Regions from separate parts of the Homo sapiens genome. Here regions 2, 3, 4, 5, 6 and 7 are each linked to region 1. Evidence: promoter capture Hi-C in 16 types of primary human blood cells and fetal thymus (Javierre and others, 2016). All regions are on one chromosome and are shown on one strand. Each heading gives the region's core, a stretch centred on a gene start or on the middle of the fragment in contact. The rest is flanking DNA. Distances are from core to core; before and after follow the strand shown.

The links. The method cuts DNA at HindIII sites, captures the fragments that hold promoters and counts their contacts. A CHiCAGO score of 5 or more calls a contact.
Region 2: a contact is called between a fragment that was not itself captured here and the fragment with the promoter of RHO in region 1, in 5 of 17 cell types (neutrophils, naive B cells, erythroblasts and 2 more). The highest score is 6.5, in neutrophils.
Region 3: a fragment that was not itself captured here is called in contact with the fragment with the promoter of RHO in region 1 in 2 of 17 cell types (naive CD4 T cells and erythroblasts); the score reaches 5.5 in naive CD4 T cells.
Region 4: a fragment that was not itself captured here is called in contact with the fragment with the promoter of RHO in region 1 in 1 of 17 cell types (neutrophils); the score reaches 6.9 in neutrophils.
Region 5: a fragment that was not itself captured here is called in contact with the fragment with the promoter of RHO in region 1 in 5 of 17 cell types (neutrophils, naive B cells, erythroblasts and 2 more); the score reaches 10.5 in neutrophils.
Region 6: a fragment that was not itself captured here is called in contact with the fragment with the promoter of RHO in region 1 in 2 of 17 cell types (erythroblasts and neutrophils); the score reaches 6.9 in erythroblasts.
Region 7: a contact is called between a fragment that was not itself captured here and the fragment with the promoter of RHO in region 1, in 2 of 17 cell types (M2 macrophages and M0 macrophages). The highest score is 9.2, in M2 macrophages.

What each region holds. Positions count from the first base shown.
Region 1 is chr3:129,527,384-129,530,083 of GRCh38, forward strand. RHO (rhodopsin) reads left to right here and starts at 1,256. Exons shown (of 5, transcript NM_000539.3): 1 at 1,256-1,711. The coding sequence starts at 1,351. RefSeq lists enhancers at 1,207-1,932, 1,933-2,658. The HindIII fragment of the contact is 8,320 bases long and covers 1-2,700 here.
Region 2 is chr3:129,995,873-129,998,572 of GRCh38, forward strand. It overlaps the pseudogene LOC124906284 and the pseudogene RPS17P9. Among named protein-coding and RNA genes, the nearest start is that of TRH, 23 kb to the left of the region's middle. The HindIII fragment of the contact is 3,275 bases long and covers 1-2,700 here.
Region 3 is chr3:129,974,488-129,977,187 of GRCh38, forward strand. It overlaps TRH (thyrotropin releasing hormone), which reads left to right and starts at 233. Exons shown (of 3, transcript NM_007117.5): 1 at 233-336; 2 at 1,322-1,540; 3 at 2,212-2,700. The coding sequence starts at 1,330. It also overlaps the pseudogene LOC124906284. The HindIII fragment of the contact is 1,015 bases long and covers 759-1,773 here.
Region 4 is chr3:129,911,087-129,913,786 of GRCh38, forward strand. No RefSeq gene overlaps it. Among named protein-coding and RNA genes, the nearest start is that of TMCC1-DT, 19 kb to the left of the region's middle. The HindIII fragment of the contact is 8,267 bases long and covers 1-2,700 here.
Region 5 is chr3:129,927,280-129,930,030 of GRCh38, forward strand. No RefSeq gene overlaps it. Among named protein-coding and RNA genes, the nearest start is that of TMCC1-DT, 35 kb to the left of the region's middle. The HindIII fragment of the contact is 1,652 bases long and covers 662-2,313 here.
Region 6 is chr3:129,955,927-129,958,626 of GRCh38, forward strand. No RefSeq gene overlaps it. Among named protein-coding and RNA genes, the nearest start is that of TRH, 17 kb to the right of the region's middle. The HindIII fragment of the contact is 5,965 bases long and covers 1-2,700 here.
Region 7 is chr3:129,889,289-129,891,988 of GRCh38, forward strand. The region is part of intron 1 of TMCC1 (transmembrane and coiled-coil domain family 1); the gene reads right to left. Among named protein-coding and RNA genes, the nearest start is that of TMCC1, 3.1 kb to the right of the region's middle. The HindIII fragment of the contact is 1,850 bases long and covers 439-2,288 here.

The sequences.
Region 1 (2,700 bases), core at 6-2,505:
AGACACCCCACTTCATTCCTGGGAGGTGTCATCATGTTGCTTGGACGACGGGGAGAGGGGGACCTGCCAGTGTTGGCCTCCATTTTCCCCCAGTCATCTGCCCCCAAGGCTCTGACTACTTTCTTTCTCACGGTACATCCTGCTATTCTGGAATCGGCCCTCGTGGGGCCACCTGGTACATGGCATTTGAGGCCCTCGTGGCTGATTAGGCCTCCCCCAACAGTGCCCTGTCTGCTGCCTCCAGGGCCAGCCTCCCCTTCAGACTGGAGTCCCCTGAAGGGTTCTGCCCCTCCCCTGCTCTGGTAGCCCCCTCCATCCTCCCTCCCTCCACTCCATCTTTGGGGGCATTTGAGTCACCTTTCTACACCAGTGATCTGCCCAAGCCACTGCTCACTTTCCTCTGGATAAAGCCAGGTTCCCCGGCCTAGCGTTCAAGACCCATTACAACTGCCCCCAGCCCAGATCTTCCCCACCTAGCCACCTGGCAAACTGCTCCTTCTCTCAAAGGCCCAAACATGGCCTCCCAGACTGCAACCCCCAGGCAGTCAGGCCCTGTCTCCACAACCTCACAGCCACCCTGGACGGAATCTGCTTCTTCCCACATTTGAGTCCTCCTCAGCCCCTGAGCTCCTCTGGGCAGGGCTGTTTCTTTCCATCTTTGTATTCCCAGGGGCCTGCAAATAAATGTTTAATGAACGAACAAGAGAGTGAATTCCAATTCCATGCAACAAGGATTGGGCTCCTGGGCCCTAGGCTATGTGTCTGGCACCAGAAACGGAAGCTGCAGGTTGCAGCCCCTGCCCTCATGGAGCTCCTCCTGTCAGAGGAGTGTGGGGACTGGATGACTCCAGAGGTAACTTGTGGGGGAACGAACAGGTAAGGGGCTGTGTGACGAGATGAGAGACTGGGAGAATAAACCAGAAAGTCTCTAGCTGTCCAGAGGACATAGCACAGAGGCCCATGGTCCCTATTTCAAACCCAGGCCACCAGACTGAGCTGGGACCTTGGGACAGACAAGTCATGCAGAAGTTAGGGGACCTTCTCCTCCCTTTTCCTGGATCCTGAGTACCTCTCCTCCCTGACCTCAGGCTTCCTCCTAGTGTCACCTTGGCCCCTCTTAGAAGCCAATTAGGCCCTCAGTTTCTGCAGCGGGGATTAATATGATTATGAACACCCCCAATCTCCCAGATGCTGATTCAGCCAGGAGCTTAGGAGGGGGAGGTCACTTTATAAGGGTCTGGGGGGGTCAGAACCCAGAGTCATCCAGCTGGAGCCCTGAGTGGCTGAGCTCAGGCCTTCGCAGCATTCTTGGGTGGGAGCAGCCACGGGTCAGCCACAAGGGCCACAGCCATGAATGGCACAGAAGGCCCTAACTTCTACGTGCCCTTCTCCAATGCGACGGGTGTGGTACGCAGCCCCTTCGAGTACCCACAGTACTACCTGGCTGAGCCATGGCAGTTCTCCATGCTGGCCGCCTACATGTTTCTGCTGATCGTGCTGGGCTTCCCCATCAACTTCCTCACGCTCTACGTCACCGTCCAGCACAAGAAGCTGCGCACGCCTCTCAACTACATCCTGCTCAACCTAGCCGTGGCTGACCTCTTCATGGTCCTAGGTGGCTTCACCAGCACCCTCTACACCTCTCTGCATGGATACTTCGTCTTCGGGCCCACAGGATGCAATTTGGAGGGCTTCTTTGCCACCCTGGGCGGTATGAGCCGGGTGTGGGTGGGGTGTGCAGGAGCCCGGGAGCATGGAGGGGTCTGGGAGAGTCCCGGGCTTGGCGGTGGTGGCTGAGAGGCCTTCTCCCTTCTCCTGTCCTGTCAATGTTATCCAAAGCCCTCATATATTCAGTCAACAAACACCATTCATGGTGATAGCCGGGCTGCTGTTTGTGCAGGGCTGGCACTGAACACTGCCTTGATCTTATTTGGAGCAATATGCGCTTGTCTAATTTCACAGCAAGAAAACTGAGCTGAGGCTCAAAGAAGTCAAGCGCCCTGCTGGGGCGTCACACAGGGACGGGTGCAGAGTTGAGTTGGAAGCCCGCATCTATCTCGGGCCATGTTTGCAGCACCAAGCCTCTGTTTCCCTTGGAGCAGCTGTGCTGAGTCAGACCCAGGCTGGGCACTGAGGGAGAGCTGGGCAAGCCAGACCCCTCCTCTCTGGGGGCCCAAGCTCAGGGTGGGAAGTGGATTTTCCATTCTCCAGTCATTGGGTCTTCCCTGTGCTGGGCAATGGGCTCGGTCCCCTCTGGCATCCTCTGCCTCCCCTCTCAGCCCCTGTCCTCAGGTGCCCCTCCAGCCTCCCTGCCGCGTTCCAAGTCTCCTGGTGTTGAGAACCGCAAGCAGCCGCTCTGAAGCAGTTCCTTTTTGCTTTAGAATAATGTCTTGCATTTAACAGGAAAACAGATGGGGTGCTGCAGGGATAACAGATCCCACTTAACAGAGAGGAAAACTGAGGCAGGGAGAGGGGAAGAGACTCATTTAGGGATGTGGCCAGGCAGCAACAAGAGCCTAGGTCTCCTGGCTGTGATCCAGGAATATCTCTGCTGAGATGCAGGAGGAGACGCTAGAAGCAGCCATTGCAAAGCTGGGTGACGGGGAGAGCTTACCGCCAGCCACAAGCGTCTCTCTGCCAGCCTTGCCCTGTCTCCCCCATGTCCAGGCTGCTGCCTCGGTCCCATTCTCAGGGAATCTC
Region 2 (2,700 bases), core at 88-2,587, 470 kb after region 1:
TGGTACCATGAGGCCATCACTCCACAATCACCCTCGTGGCTGCTCTGGAGGTACACCCACCTTACACAGAACACCTCCAGGAGGACTGCAAGGAGAAATCCAGTCTCAGATAGTCCAGAGAAAGATGGAAGGAGAGGGGGTTTATCTACCTGGATCCCTCCTGTCTCCTGGGTCTCATTAGTCAACCTTGGTTCTGTGGCCAATGAACGATAAATTCTTTTGTACTTCTGGCATCATTTGGTCATTTTGGGGGCTCTGAGGTCTTTCCATCCCACACCCTGTGGGGTGTGTTTCAAATACGGATGTAAGTCTTATTATTACTCAAGTACAGTGAGACCAACAGCTCAGGAGACGACTGCCACAGAAAAGAGTTTGTTACTCACAGGTCCCAAGAGGAGGGGGCATGCCATGCCAGGAAGAGCCACAAGGAGAGGCATGAGGGTCAATCAGGAGGCAGAGGGTGTGAGGGGCAAATGGGGCAAGATCCTTTACTTTAGTTTCCAGGTGAGGCAGGGTAAACAGGCTTAGGATTGGCTAGATTGAATAATTTCAGCAGGCTTTGGGGCATAGCGGCTGACCCTAGATGCTTGGTACCTGGCCCTGGAGTGATTAGGGCAGGAGAATAGTGGCCTGGAGTGAAAGAGCCCAGAGATAAAGGGGGTGGTGCGGGTGGGGGCTGTGCATTGATTAGTTTGCATGTTAAATGCACACTTACAGGCCAGTCCTTTACTATCTCTTGGCCATCCCTGGGAGGAGCAATCCCTCCAGGGTTACCAAGACCCCAGATGTCAAAGCATCAGAAACATAGAAGATAGAAAGGTATCATTAATACAGGGAAGAACCAGAAACTCTGGGCATGAGCTGGTGGATCTAGCTGCACTGTGGTGGCCAAGGGGGAGGGTCCTGCACACCCAGCAGGGACAATGTCCTCTGCCTATTGCGACTTCTTTGACCCAGCTCCTCCTACTCTCCCCTCATTCACACCATCCTCCTTAGCCTCCTTGCTGTTTCTGGAACATGCCAGGCAACAGGGACCAGGGCTGTAACTTTCCAGATCATTTTCTCTACATTTGTACACAGCCACATGCACATATATTTGCACACTATTGTCTCAAGACTTTTCTGATACCACCGCACATCTTAGAGCTGTCCTCATGTCAGTCGTTAGATATTTCCCTTGTTCTTTTTAATCACTATAATGGTTGACGCATGGGTGCATCAAAAGTCACTTATGCACACCCCTATGGATGGATATTTAGGTTATTTTCAGCACTTCCTGATTATAAACAACGCCATCATAAGCAGTCTTGCTCCTGTCTTTGTATAGACATGCGAGTTTCTGTGGGATAGAACACCTACAAGCAAAATTGCTAGGACAATGGGCATGGGTAGTTAACATTTTCACAAATACTGCCAACTGCTCCATAGAAAGCCGCTCCCAATTTATACACCCACCCATAGTGAGTGAGGTTTCAGAGAACTCATTGCTCCACACCATTTCCAACAACAGCTATTTTCAGTGATTAATCTTTTTGAAATCAATCTATTTTTTCTTTTTCTTTTTCTTTTTAGAGGTGGAGTCTCACTCTGTCACCCAGGCTGGAGTGCAGTGGTGAGATCTCAGCTCACCGTAGCCTCCACCTCCTGGGTTCAAGCGATTCTCCTGCCTCAGCCTCCCGAGTAGCTGGGATTACAGGTGCACCCACCACGCCCGGCTAATTTTTTTTTTTTTGAGACGGAGTTTTGCTCTTGTTGCCCAGGCTGGAGTGTGATGGCGTGATCTTGGCTCACTGCAACCTCCACCTTTTGGGTTCTAATGATTCTCCTGCCTCAGCCTCTTGAGCAGCTGGGATTACAGGCATGCGCCACCATGCCCAGCTAATTTTGTATTTTTAGTAGAGACGAGGTTTCTCCATGTTGGTCAGGCTGGTCTTGAACTCCTGACCTCAGGTGATCCACCCACCTCGGCCTCCCAAAGTGCTGGGATTACAGGCATGAGCCACTGCACCTGGCCTTAATTTTTGTATTTTTAGTAAAGACAGGGTTTCACCATTGTTGGCCAGGCTGGTCACAAACTCCTGACCTCAAGTGATATAGCTTGCCTCAGCCTCCCAAAGTGCTGGGATTACAGGTGTGAGCCACCACGCCTGGCTGAAATGAAATCAACTTCCTTCCTTCCTTCTTCTTTCCTTCCTTCCCTCCCTCCTTTCTCCCTTTCTTTCTTTTCTTTTTCTTTCTTTCTTTCTTTTTCTTCCTTTCTTTCTTTCCTTCTCTTTCCTTTCTTTTTCTTTCTTTCTGACTTTCCTTCCTTCCTTCTTTCTCTTTCTTTCTGACTTTCCTTCCTTCTTTCTCTCTTTTTCTCTCTCTCTTTCTCTCTTTTTCTTTCTCCTTCCTTCTTTTCTTTCTTTCTTTTCCTTCTCTTGCTCTGTTGCCCAGGCTGGAGTGGCTGGCACGATCTTGGCTCAAGCCAATCTCAGGTTCAAGCCATTCTCCTGCCTCAGCCTCCCAAGTAGCTGGGACTACAGGCACGCACCACTATGCCTAACTATGAAATCAGCCTATTTCTGGTAGCCACTCTATTTGATTCCAAAAATGGCTTGAAGCAGTTTTTACTCAAAAAAAATACCTGAAGTTCCTCTTTTGCAAGGATCTGCCAACATAGGCCATGTCTGCCCTCAAACCATGAAGAAGGCATCCTGG
Region 3 (2,700 bases), core at 16-2,515, 450 kb after region 1:
GGTGGTGCAGAAACGACCCCGCGCCGGCGCCCCATCCTGCGGCCAGTGCCTCCGCGCCCCGGCTCCGGTCCCCACCGTCCCCGCCCCAGATTTCCGGAGGAGCAGGCGGGCGGGGTCCCGCGGGGCCGGCTGCCGTCAGCGCCCCTTCCCGGCGGCCGCGACCCCTCCCCGCTGACCTCACTCGAGCCGCCGCCTGGCGCAGATATAAGCGGCGGCCCATCTGAAGAGGGCTCGGCAGGCGCCCGGGGTCCTCAGCGCTGCAGACTCCTGACCTGCCGACTGCGGATCCCGAGTCCCCGGATCCCGGACCCATCCTGTGGAGCCCACTCCTGGCAGGTAACCGCCCCAACCCCTCTCCTTCCGCAGACGGTGTCCGGGAGCACTGGAAAGGGAGCCCTCTCGGCCCGCCCTCACCTTCGGTTCTCTGAGAGCTTCCTGGAGAACAGGGCCGGTGCACAGGCGGGCGCTGTGCTCGCACCCCCGGGTCCTCCCCGAGCGCAGGCCGGGGACCCGACGGGAGGCACGGCGCGGGCACATCGGAGGCTCTCGCTGCTGGGCACTCAGGTCGCCAGAGTCCGCAGCGCGGGGTGGGAGCTCCGCGGCACCCCCTGCCTGGGTGCCGCCGGACAGAGCTGGGTATTCAGGGCGTCGGCCTGAGAACCTGGGAGTTCGAATCCCAATCTCAACGCTAGAAATAGAATTTTAGCGTTGAAGTTAGGATTTTAGCGTTAGAATCAGATTCCTGGCTTAGTCATGAAAGCTTAGCATTAGAAATAGAATCTTAGCTTTGCAAATAGACTTTGAGCTTTAGAACCTGAATCTTAGCGATAGAAATGGGATCTTCGCGTTGGAATGAGGACGTCGGCCACGGAGCTTGGAGTTAGAACGTGGCGATGGGGACCTTTGGGGGAGTCTTGGCGGGGACGCAACCGTTAGCGTCGCGGCTGTGCCTGGCGCTGCAATCTCAATGGTTGCACTCCCGGCGAGGCAGTCCCAGCGTTGGCTTCCCCAGTTCCGCGTCACATTGAAGGGTGGCGGTGGCGCTGGCGATGGGGTTCCTACGGCCTCCTGCCTTGCGCAAGCAGAACTGGGCGCAGGCACTACAGGCACCCGTGGGGGCGAGGACGCCTAGAGGTGACAGGTGTGGACGCAGAGCCGGGGCGAACCCGCCGCTGCTCCCGCCCCTGCACGAGGGGCAGTGGTCCTGCTTCTGGGAGGGCGGTTGAACTGTGCGTGGTTTGTTTCTGGCGGGCGTCGGGGGAGATGGAGCGGGATGTGCTGTGATTCGGTGCGCTCAGGCTCCCTCTGTCCCCTAACCCAGACGCCGCGATGCCCGGCCCTTGGTTGCTGCTCGCTCTGGCTTTGACCCTGAACCTGACCGGTGTCCCCGGCGGCCGTGCTCAGCCAGAGGCGGCCCAGCAGGAGGCAGTGACGGCCGCGGAGCATCCGGGCCTGGATGACTTCCTGCGCCAGGTGGAGCGCCTCCTCTTCCTCCGGGAAAACATCCAGCGGCTGCAAGGGGACCAGGGTGAGCACTCCGGTGAGTGGATGGGGCTGTTGGGGGCTGTGGGGCTAGGCTATTGGGAGAGCCGTGGAAACCTGCCGGCAAAGGGGAGGGGAGGCTTGGTCAGCTAGCCTTCTGCCTTTCGGAAGCTCAGAAACCCTCCCTGGCTGCGCCTAGGCGGGATCTGGAGTTGACCATTCCTCGGGGTCAGATTCCTCCCCTGTCTCAATGCTGGGAATATTTCACAGAGAGCAGGCCCTGGGTGGGGAAGCTTCTGTGTGCTAGGGAGAGAGTTTCTTTGTGTGTGACAGTTTGAATTACTACTGTCTAGGCACTTCTGTGCCAGACACTATTCCAAGCACTTCAAACACCTTATCACACTGTTTGATCTTCCTAACAACCTCTTAGTTAGGTACTGTTATTACGATTTTACACAGAAGAAAACTGAGGCTCCCAGAGATCAATTGAGTCGCTTATGGTCAGACAACTAGGGAGCGCCAGAGCTGGGATTGGAACCCAGAGGCAATGCCTTTGACTATTGTGTGAATGTGTGTATCTGTGAGGCCTGAGGGGCAGGTGCAAGACCATGCCTCTGAGTGGGAGCTGCAGGAAATGTACCCTGCCTGGGAGAAAAGCAGGAGTGGGCACTCAGGCGCCTGCCTATTACATGGGTCAGGGGCCCCTCACTGACCTCTTTCCTTCCCCAGCGTCCCAGATCTTTCAATCTGACTGGCTCTCCAAACGTCAGCATCCAGGCAAAAGAGAGGAGGAGGAGGAAGAGGGAGTTGAAGAAGAGGAAGAGGAAGAAGGGGGGGCTGTGGGACCCCACAAACGGCAGCACCCTGGCCGACGAGAAGATGAGGCTTCATGGTCAGTCGATGTAACCCAGCACAAGCGGCAGCATCCTGGCCGGCGCTCCCCCTGGCTTGCATATGCTGTCCCGAAGCGGCAGCACCCAGGCAGAAGGCTGGCAGATCCCAAGGCTCAAAGGAGCTGGGAAGAAGAGGAGGAGGAGGAAGAGAGAGAGGAAGACCTGATGCCTGAAAAACGCCAGCATCCGGGCAAGAGGGCCCTGGGAGGCCCCTGTGGGCCCCAGGGAGCCTATGGTCAAGCGGGCCTTCTGCTGGGGCTCCTGGATGACCTGAGTAGGAGCCAGGGAGCTGAGGAAAAGCGGCAGCACCCTGGTCGGCGGGCAG
Region 4 (2,700 bases), core at 144-2,643, 380 kb after region 1:
GTGGTTTGCACCTGTAATCCCAGCTACTTGGGATGCTGAGGCACGAGAATCGCTTGAACCTGGGAGGCGGAGGTTGCAGTGAGCAGAGATCATGCCACTGCACTCCAGCCTGGGCCACAAACTCCATCTCAAAAAAAAAAAAAAAAAAAAATTTCGACACTTCATCTTAGCCAAAAGGCCAAGAAGTGATATGACTTAAAATTTCTAATGATTGTGCTAGTTTTTCTTACTTCAGGGCCTTTGCTTATGCTATTCCCTGTTCCTGATACTCCTTCCTCTCCAACAGAGTTGGCTTAAATGGTTCAGGTCTCAGCTTGAATGTCATTTCCTCAGGGTGGCCTTCCCTGACCCCACAAAGTCAGCTGCTCTTATGACATTCTCTCAAAACACTCTGAATTTCCTCTTAGCTCAACATACCCATAACTTCCCCTTACATTTCTGCCTTCCTCTCTGGACTGTAAGCTCCACCAGTGCAGGGACTTTGTCTCTGTCATTCTGAACCCACTGACCTCCATGTATCTTTAGGAGCTCAATAAATATTAATTAAATTAATAAATATTAAATTAAATATTAATTAAATCAATAAATATTGATAAATATTAATTAAATATTTATTTAATTAATATTTATTAAGATTTACAAATGAGTGAATGGTGGTCCTAGTCATATTAAATGAAGTATAATCCTGACTTATATTTGTATAACTCTTTTCTCTTTTTAGTACATTTTTACTTCTGTTTTCCCATTTGACCCTCCAAAAACTCAGCTCTACCTGGAGAGTCTCTCTCAGTCCTTAAAGTGCATATGAGATCCCCTAGCTGTTAGGTGTGAGCATGGACTGGAGGTGGATGGCCTGCCTTCCCATCCTAATTATGCCACTTCAGATCTGTGTCTTGGGCAAATTCCCTCACCTCTTTGTGCCCCAGTGTCTTCGTTTGTGCTTACCTCATAGGTGTACTATGAGGAGCAAATGAATATATAATGTAAAGATCTTGAACAGTGCCAGATACCTAACAAATGCTAGCTATCATTCCAGGAGCAGCATGAAGATGAAGAGTATAGGGGCCAGTATTACAGATTAGGCATCCCCAATATTGTGCTGAGTAGAAGAAGCTGGACACAAAACAGCACACACTGTGCATTTCCATTACATGAAGTTCAAGGATAGGCAAAACTAGCCTATGATGACAGAGGTAGGCTAGAACAGTAGTGGGCGGGGGCAAGCACACTGACTGGGAAGTACACAGTAGTCTTCTTGGGTGCTGGAAATGTTTTGTGTCTTGATCTGGGTGGTGGTTACACAGGTAAGTATGTCTACAGAAATTTTTTTTTTTTTTTTTGAGATGGAGTCTCGCTCTGTTGCACAGGCTGGAGTACAATGGCACCATCTCAGCTCACTGCAACCTCCGCCTCCAAGATTCAAGCAATTCTCGTGCCTTAGCCTCCCAAGGAGCTGGGATTACAGGCATATGCCACCATACCTGGCTAATTCTAATTTTTGTATTTTCAGTAGATACAGGGTTTCGCCATGTTGGCCAGGCTGGTCTCGAACTCGTGACCTCAGGTAATCTGCCCACCTCAGCCTCCCAAAGTGCTGGGAGTACAAGCGTGAGCCACCGCACCCAGCCAGAAATGTATTCTTAAGATTTGTGGCTGGGCACGGTGGCTCACGCTTGTACTCCCAGCACTTTGGGAGCCCGAGGTGGGTGGATCACATGAGTTCAGGAGTTCGAGACCACTCAGTGAGCCAGTCAGCTCCAGGGGAACAGAACTCCGACATCCTCCCTGCCGGGGCCTCACGGTCAGGATTGCTAGTGATTGGGATCTCAGGCTTATTGATCTAGTTTGTCTTCAAGTGATAGAAATCCAAAGCAAATAGGCATATGCAAAATCAGAGCCATTTATTGGGAGAATGCTGGTGTGCTTATGGAACATAGCCTTGGGAAGTGCAGGGAGGGCCTCAGAGACAAGTGGGCCCTTGGACACTTTCTCCCCTCTCTGCTTTTCCTAGTTTTATCAGATCAGCTTTCTCCCCATAATGGGGGATGTGGCTGCCATTAGTTCCTGAGCCTCATGCTAGAAAACCTGTATCCTGCGTCAGTCCAGTCCAGCAAATCTGAGGGAAAGGCTCTGATTGGCCCATTTTGAGTACAATGCCCATCCCTAGACCGATCAACTGTGGCCATGAGCGTATGACCAATAACACCCACTGAAATTACATAGTGATTAGAAAGCAGAAAGGAACAGGTCCCCAAAAGAAGGTGTTGTTCCCAGAAGAAAAGGGGGTGCTGGGCAGGGAAGACAATATCACAGATGTCACAGTGGTGGGACAGAGAGGGATACAACTAAGTCCATGAAGGCTGGCCTGTGTCTCTTCTAATTAAACATAACTTTCTCAGTCCCTGTTGTCCAGTAATCCAGAGACAAGGTCAGCAGGATCCTACCTTTGAGATCCAACTAACTCAGCAAGTGGTGGGAGGGGCACCAGAGAAACATCAGGTCCTGTCTCAAGCCAGGACCTTCAGCCCTGTCAACAGGACAGTCCAAGAGAGTGGTGGAAGCTCACCAGGCTGGGCCCCCACAAACCAGTCCTGATGCCACAACTAACAGGCTGGGCCTCAGTGTCCTCCTCTGTAAAATGAGAGCTGTTGAGCTACCTGATTAGAGAGATAACATTGAGTTCCTGAATGCCAAACAGCT
Region 5 (2,751 bases), core at 238-2,737, 400 kb after region 1:
GACAGCTGGGTTTGTCTTGGCCACCACCGGACTCCTTCGGAGTGGGTGACTGATAGAGCTCAGATGACTGACCAGGGAGCCAGGGCTGTGATCAGGCTCTTGGGTTGGCTGGAATGACCAACCTAAATAGCCAGCACACCCCGAAGATGTCCTCCTGCCACCCACAGGGCCAATGTCCTTGCTTGCTCATTTAATGAGGGACCTGTCCTCCTTGTTTGTCTCTCTCCCCCAGCTCAAGAGTGAGACACCTGGACAGCTTGCCCTGAGGAAAACTTCAGAAAGAACTGAAGGGACACTGGTGTCTGGTATGGAAAAAGGATACCTCTGGGTAAAAGGAAGACTCTGGGTAGCTCTGGTGACCCAGCCTTGGATTCCAGCTCCCGTGGGGGAACACTTTCTCATGGTTAGGTCCCTCGAGGGAGAGATGGCCCTGGAGATGTGCGAGCAGGAGCTAGGAGATGGCCCGCCAGGACACGACAGAGGAGACTCGCAGGATGGGTGGGAAGCTCACCTAGATTAGAGTCTTCTGATGCACCTCCAGAGCCTGGTGGACTATACAGATCTGATTTGGCATTTGTGGAAAATTCAGATTCCTAGGCCAAACCTCTAGTCTTCTATTTGCTATGAGGTTAAGGTGAGACTGGGATCTGTAGTTGTAACAAGCTTCCGGGTGATGCTGGTGCAGAGTTCTAGATTGATGTCTCTGGGGGTGCAGGTTTGAGTGCCAGAGAGAAAAGAAATGTGCTTTATGCCTCATTGTGCCACTCTGGTAACTACGGCAGGACTCCACACATAGTAGGTATTCAAAGAATGCTTGTGGAAGGAAGGAAGGGAGAGAAGGAAGAATGGAGGAAGAAGAAGAAAAAAAAAGAGAGAAGAAAGGAAAAGAGGGAGGAAGGGAAGGAAGAAGTCAGGAGGGAGGAAGGGAGACCTTTGTCATTAAAACAAGAATCAGTACATTTAAGAACCGCTTCCCCTGGTGACCAAGAGTCCAAATTCTCATTTGACCAGCTTTGAATTACATAAGGAAGGAAGACCTAGTCCTTTGCTTAAAAATGTGCCCTCAGTGGTGGTTGCAAACTCAAATGTCTTCAGGGGATGGCAAATAATAGAAATGTGATAGGTATAGCGTTGCCAGGTATTGCAAATTAAAACACAGGATGCTCTTTTAAATTCAAATTTCAGATAAACAACGAATAAATTTCTAGTATAATTAGGTTACAAATACTATGTGAGACATACTTACACTGAAAATATTATTTGTTGTTTATTAAAAATTTAAATGTAATTGGGTGTCTTGTATTTATCTGACAATCCTAGCTAGGGGGTTGAGTAAAAATAAAGAAACTTGTGCCCATCCGCCACCCCCACCAAGACTTTGCTTCATGCATTTTGAGTTCTGTTGTTAGGTGCATAATATGTTAATAATTATTGTGTCTTCTTGCTGGACTGAAACTTTAATCATCATAAAATGTCCTTGTCTGTAGCAACAATTTTTGTCTTAGCCTATTTTGTCTGATATCGTATATAGCCACTCTAGCTGTATTTTAATTACTGTTTGCATAGTATATTTTTTTCATTCTTTTACTTTCAATCTATTTGAATATTTGAATCTGAAGTGTATCTCTTGTAAACAGTATATAACTGGATTAAAATCCATCTGCCTGCCGGGTGTGGTGGCTCATGCCTGTAATCCCAGCACTTTGGGAGGCTGAGGTGGGCAGATCGCTTGAGCCCAGGAGTTAGAGACCAGCCTGGGCAACATGGTGAAACCCTCATCTCTAAAAAAAAAATTATATATGAAAATTAGTGAGGCATGGTGGCACATGCCTGTAGTCCCAGCTACCTAGGAGGCTGAGGTGGGAGGATCATCTGAGCTCAGAAGTTTGAGGTTGCAGTGAGCTGTGATCACACCACTGCACTCCAGCCTGGGCAACAGAGTGAAATCCTGTCACAAAAAGAAAGAAAGAAAAAGAGAGAGATAGTTTTCCTAGAGACAGAATTTTTGATTGAGTCTTTCTTTCAGTTTCAAGTGATCCTCCTGCCTCAGCCTCCTAAACAGCTAAGACTACAGGTGTGTGCCACCATGCCTGGCTAATATTTCACTTTTTTTGTAGAGACATCATCTTGCTTTGTTGCCCAGGCTTGTCTTGAATCCCTGGCTTCAGGTGATCCTCTTGTCTCAGCCTCCTAAGGTGCTGGGATTATAGGTGTGAGGCACTGCACCAAGCCTTGGTGAGTCTTTCAGCACCTTGAACATGCCATCCCTTTGCCTTCTTGTCTCCACGGTTTCTGATGAGAAATCAGCTGTTAAGCTTATTGAGGATCCCTTGTATATGATGAGTCTTTTTCTGTCTTGCTACTTCCTACATTCATTGCCTTTGGCTTTCAATAGTTTCATTATGATGTGTCTAGGAGTGGATCTTTTGAATGTATCCTACTTGAGGACCTGTTGAGCTTCTTGATTTTGTAGATTACTGTTTTGAAAAGAAATCAAATTTAGGAAGTCTTTGGCCATCATGTCTCAAATATTCCTTCTGCCTTTTTCTCACTATCCTCTCATTTCCTCCTGAGGCCTCTATTATATGTATTTTAGTGTACTTTACGGTATCCCACAGTTATCTGAGGCTCTGTTCATTTTTTTTTCTTTCTGTTGCTCAGGCTAGATCACTGCAAATGACCAGTCTTCACATTAGCTGATTCTTTCTTCTGCCAGCTTAAATCTGCTGCTGAACCCTCCAGTGAATTGTT
Region 6 (2,700 bases), core at 60-2,559, 430 kb after region 1:
TGCTCCTGGGGACACACATACTCCCTCTCCCTCCTCCCTTGCTGCTGAAACAAGTCAGGAGCCAGGCGATCAATGGCCGGCCTTGCCTGGGCGAGCTCTCTGCTCATTACAAGTGCCTGCCACCTCCGCGTCCCTCCTATCCAAGGACAGCTTGGTGGGGACCTAATTCAGAGAAGGAATGAAACAGCCAGGAGTCTGCTTCTCTCACCCCCTTCCTGTCCATGCCCCCATCTGCCCAGAGCCAGAGACCTTACTGCTCATACTGTTCTCAGGAGATAGTTAAGGTCTCCTGCCTGGAGACCTCAACATTCCCCTCTAGGGCATCTTGACGGTTCTGCCCAGTCATATCCTCAGCTGGTCACTTAGCCTAAACATCTACCATTAGTCCAGATGGCAACCACCTGTCTATTAGGTACTAATTGTGTGGCAGGTGGCTTACATCTCAATCAACCTCACCCAATCTCTGTGGTAGGAACTACAATGAGGTCAACTTGATAGAGAAGAAACTGAGGAGCAAATAAGTCACTTCTCCTGGAGAATAGTTGGGCTAGAGTCAGGCTGGCCTTATTCCCAGGGCTCTCTGCACTCGGAGGCTATCAAAATAGTCTCCAAATTCAAGCACCCTTTTGTCTGGTGCTCAACAGAAGAAATCCTGGGGTTTTGATGAAGAGATAGGCAAATAGAACTATTAATTTATTCTTTCATTCATTCTTTACTTCAGCATCTATTAAGTGGTAGGCTCTGTTCTAGATGAAGGGATAGAGCAGTCACCAAAAGAAATTCCCTGCTCCCAGAGTTTCCAATCTAGTGGCCCAGAGAGGTGACATCACTTGCCTCAGGTCAAACAGCCAGAAAGTAGCCATAACCAGAGGCAGAAGGGGTGATCATAGGGAGAGGTCTGATCTGACTCCCTAGGATCAGGCCAGCCAAGGCATGGAGGGCAGGACATACCTTGGCAACAGGCTGGCCAGGGTTCCAATCCCACTACTGCTATGTCCTCATCATGCAACTCTGGGAAAACCACTTTGCTTTTTTGAGCCTGTTTTCTTGTGGGTGGAATGGGGATAGTTAGAACCATGGTTGAAACAGGCCCTGAGAGGATGAAACAGGCCCTGGTAAATGTTGGGGACTGGCCTTCCCTTTCTCCTTCCAGGGAGGGTTGCAGGCTTCTTCCACCTCCTCTGTGAGCAACCTTGGCCTCAGTCAACCCTCATGAATGTGGAAGAGATCTGAGTGTACTGTGGCCTGATCAGCCACCTCTGCTTCCTGTATCTCATCAGCTTGCTCCTAGGGTCCTTGGGCATGGAGTGGCAAAGTTCTACAGCACATAAAGCACAAATTATTTAAAAAATATTAAAGAGATAATTGTGGTGTGTGGAGAATAGATTGGAGGTGGGGGGCATATCTGTCAGCTATTTCACAATAATGCCACATAACAAGCCACCCCAAAACCCAGTGGTTTCAAACAATGATCATCTCATCTCATAGGCCTGCAGACAAGTTGGAGTGGCTCTGCTCCAACTGTATCTGATTCTCCTCCCAGCAGCAGCGGGTGAGCCAAGGCATGTTCCAGTGGCCATGGCAGAAGCACAAGAGGGCGAGTGAAAATGCTCTTAAATCCCAGGTGGGGGCCCACTTATGCTCCATCCTGTTGACCAGTGCCATTCAATAGCCAAGGCCAAGGTTAAGGGAGACGGAAATCTATCCATCCCATTGGCAGAGGTGTGGCTGCAGGAAGAGGTGAAGAATTGGGACTAATTTTCAATATACCACAGGAGGAGGTGAGGAAGAAGTATGTCTACTTAAGAGGCCCCCATAGACATCCAGGTGAGTGAGGATGGACCAGACTGGCAGCAGTGGCAGTGATGAGAAATATCTGTTGACTGAATGAATGCTCAGACCCTTAATTCCACCTTGACCCTTAATTCCACTCCTAGGAATTCATGCTAATAACATAAACTAAACTGTGAAGATGTTCATTACAGCATTGCTTATAATAATAAAATATGGATACAACTTAAATGTGCATGAAATGTAACTCCTAAATTCTAGCATCTTAGAAAATGTAATAGAAAGAGACTGCTTTGGACTGGCGTGGTGGCTTACACCGGTAATCCCAGCACTTTGGGAGGCTGAGGCAGGAGGATCACTTGAGGACAGGAGTTTGAGACCAGCCTGGGCAACACAGCAAGACCTGTCTCTGCAAAAAATAAAAAAATTAGCCAAGTGTGGTGATGTGTACCTGTAGTCCCAGCTACTCGGGAGGCTGAAGCAAGAAGATCACTTGAGCCCAGGAGTTTGAGGTTATAGTGAGCTATAATTGTACCACTGCACTCTAGCCTGGGTGACAGAGTGAGACCCTATCTGAAAAGAAAGAGAGAGAAGAAAGAAATAAAAAGAGAAAGAAAGAATGAAAGAAAGAAAGAAGAAAGAAAGAAAGAGGGAGAGGAGACTGGACTGTGGAGTCAGATAGACCTGAGTTTGAATCCCAGCTCTATTGCTTTTGAGACGTGTGACCCTGAGAAAATCACCTCACCTCTCTGAGCCTCAGGTGTGGAGGAAGGAAAAGTCACGACTTTGTAGAGGAGGACAGAAAAAGTTCACTGGCATTAGAACAGGCTTCCTAGACAAGTGGGAGTCAAGCTGGGGAAGGAGGGATATGACTTGGAGAGGCAGATGGAGAAGGTAGGCGCCCCAGAT
Region 7 (2,700 bases), core at 114-2,613, 360 kb after region 1:
AAACCTGACCAGTAATGTTCAAAACTGCCAAGGTCACTAAATACAGGGAAAGTCTGAGAAATTGTCACAACCAAGAGGAGCTAAGGAGACATAATTACTAAATGTAATGTGGTATTGTGGATGGGATCCTGGGATAGTGAAAGAACATTAAGGAAAAAACCTGTGGAAACCTGATAAAGTATGGTCTCTGTGATAATGTATCAATACTGGTTTATTAATACAGACAAATGATCACAGGGATGTAAGACGTTAATAATATGGGAAACAGTGTAGGATAGGCAGGAACTCTGCAGTATCTTTGCAATGTTTCTGTAAATCTAAATTTTAAAGTCTATTTTTAAAAATTATAACAAATTTATGATCAACGGCATCCCTGGAATTTTACTCAGTGCATCTAGGACACAAAAGATACTTAAAATATGGTCTTTGCCTTCAAGAAGCTTGTTGTCGCAGAGTGAAGACAAATGCTCATGAAACTAGTATAAAATACAAAAATAAGAAAAAATTAAATTGAAGAGTAAAGATAAAACTATATTAAGAATATAAAGAAGGTCTAGAATTATCAGGAAAGATTTGGTCAAGGAGATAAAACTTGAATTTGTACCTTAAAATATACTTCAGAGTAGCAAAGTTAAAAAAAAAAAAAAAGAATAAACTAAGCTCACAACAACCAGAAGGGTGAAGAAATAAGAAAAAGCTAACAGAAATTAAAATGGCTGGGGCATGGTGGCTCATGCTTATAAACCCAGCACTTTTGGAGGCCAAGGCAAGGGGGATCACTTGAGGCCAGGAGTTTGCCTAGGCAACATATGAGACCCCATCTCTCTCCATAATATCTTTAAAAAAAAGAAAAATAAAAACATTCAGCTCTGAAAAGTGAAGACTTAAATAGGAGACATAATAGCAGTGCTCAAACACTTTAAGGGTCATGTGGCAGAACTAACAGAGTTACACCTATACCCATTTAACTTACAAGCCAACCTCTGGCAAAATGTGACCAATGCTCAAGGACAAAGAGAGTGACAGCTGTTCAGTGGAGCCACAACAGGAAATGCCAATATGGATAGACAGGAAGCAGGTGGCTAAGTTCTCTACAACTTTTCAAAGGACAGTATGTATGTGAGCCCAAAGAAGTAAAAATCAGATTCTAATTCTGCAAATGTTTACTGACTATCTTAAGTGCCGGGCTCTTTCAAATACATTATCTTGTTTAATATTCGCAACACATCTATGAGCATGTATTAATGTAATAGAGGCTTAACATAAAAATAGAATTAAACCCTGCATGGAAACAGGAACATGTCAAAATTCTATACCATCCCCCACTCTCTGATAGGGACTCCAGAGCAGTTTTAAAAAGCCAAACAGTCTGAAGGCCCAGATACCTATATAACAATTTATTTCCTCTTGCTCTTTCCCTCAGTCAAGCTCTGTGGCTCTCAGCCTTTCATATTCGTAAGAATTTTATACAACTATACATACAAAAACATGCAGACCATACTTTTTGAGCAATTTATGGAATTTTCCAGAAGAGTTTTCATCTTACATGATTTTTGCCTCATGCACTAACTTGAGGACCTAACCCTGGGATGAGGTGCAACTCCACTGCAGTCTTACTCCATGGGTACTGTAAGGCAGGATCAGGAAGAGGAAACGGAAAGGTACCATCCTATTACATGAAGAACAACATTCTAACAAAGACATAAAATGTATTTACATAAAATGTAAGAATGACATGTTATGTGGGGAAGTTCAACACTGGAAAACAAGAGCAGCTCATCTGCACCTGCAGACCTTTGCACTCACTGTTTCATTTACCAGGAAAGCGCTACCATTTTTCAGGTCACAACTCAAATACCTTCTCCTTAATGAGGCCTCCTCTCACTAAGTAACCCTCCACCCACCTTTCAGTCATTCACTTGTCACATCAGCTTGTTTTATTTTCTTCATAATTCATATTAGGGGTCAGCAAACATTTTCTATAAAAGGCCAGACTATAATCTATAGGCCAAATCCACCTTGCCCCGTTTTATATGGCTAAGAATGGTTTTACATTTTTAAATGGCTAGGGGAAAATATTTTTAAAAACTCATTAATATTCTGTGACATGTGAAAATTTTATGAAATTCAAATTTCAGTGTCCCAAGTTTAACTGGAATATAAACATATTTGTTCACGTACTGTCTGTGGCTGCTTTTGTACTAAAACAGAATTGAGTAGTTGCAAAAGAGATCATATGGCCCAAAAACCCTGGTATGTACTGTACTTCCTGGTCCTTTACCAAAAAAAGCTTACTAACCACTGATTTATATCATTATCTGAAATGATCCTATTTGCTTGTTTGTTGTATATTCCTCATTCCCATACATACAGAATAAAGCTTAATTAGGGAAGAGGCCTTGTCTGTTTTGTCCCAACAATGTAGCCCAGTACTTAGAAAACATCCTGGAACAAAGTAAGGGCTCAATAAACATTTGATGAATTAATGAATGATCCATAAATGCCACTCTGAGGAGCTTAAACCTAAGCCCTGAGCCATTATATGTTCTGCACATTTATGAGAGGCATAAGCAGTCTTGCAGAAAAGGGGAAATATTCTACTATCAAGAAGGCCCAGTTTAAAGTAATGGTGGTTGGTCACCAACTAGTCTAGGGCACTGGGGTTCTTCATCAAATTGTAGACTACAGGTCTTTTGTGCT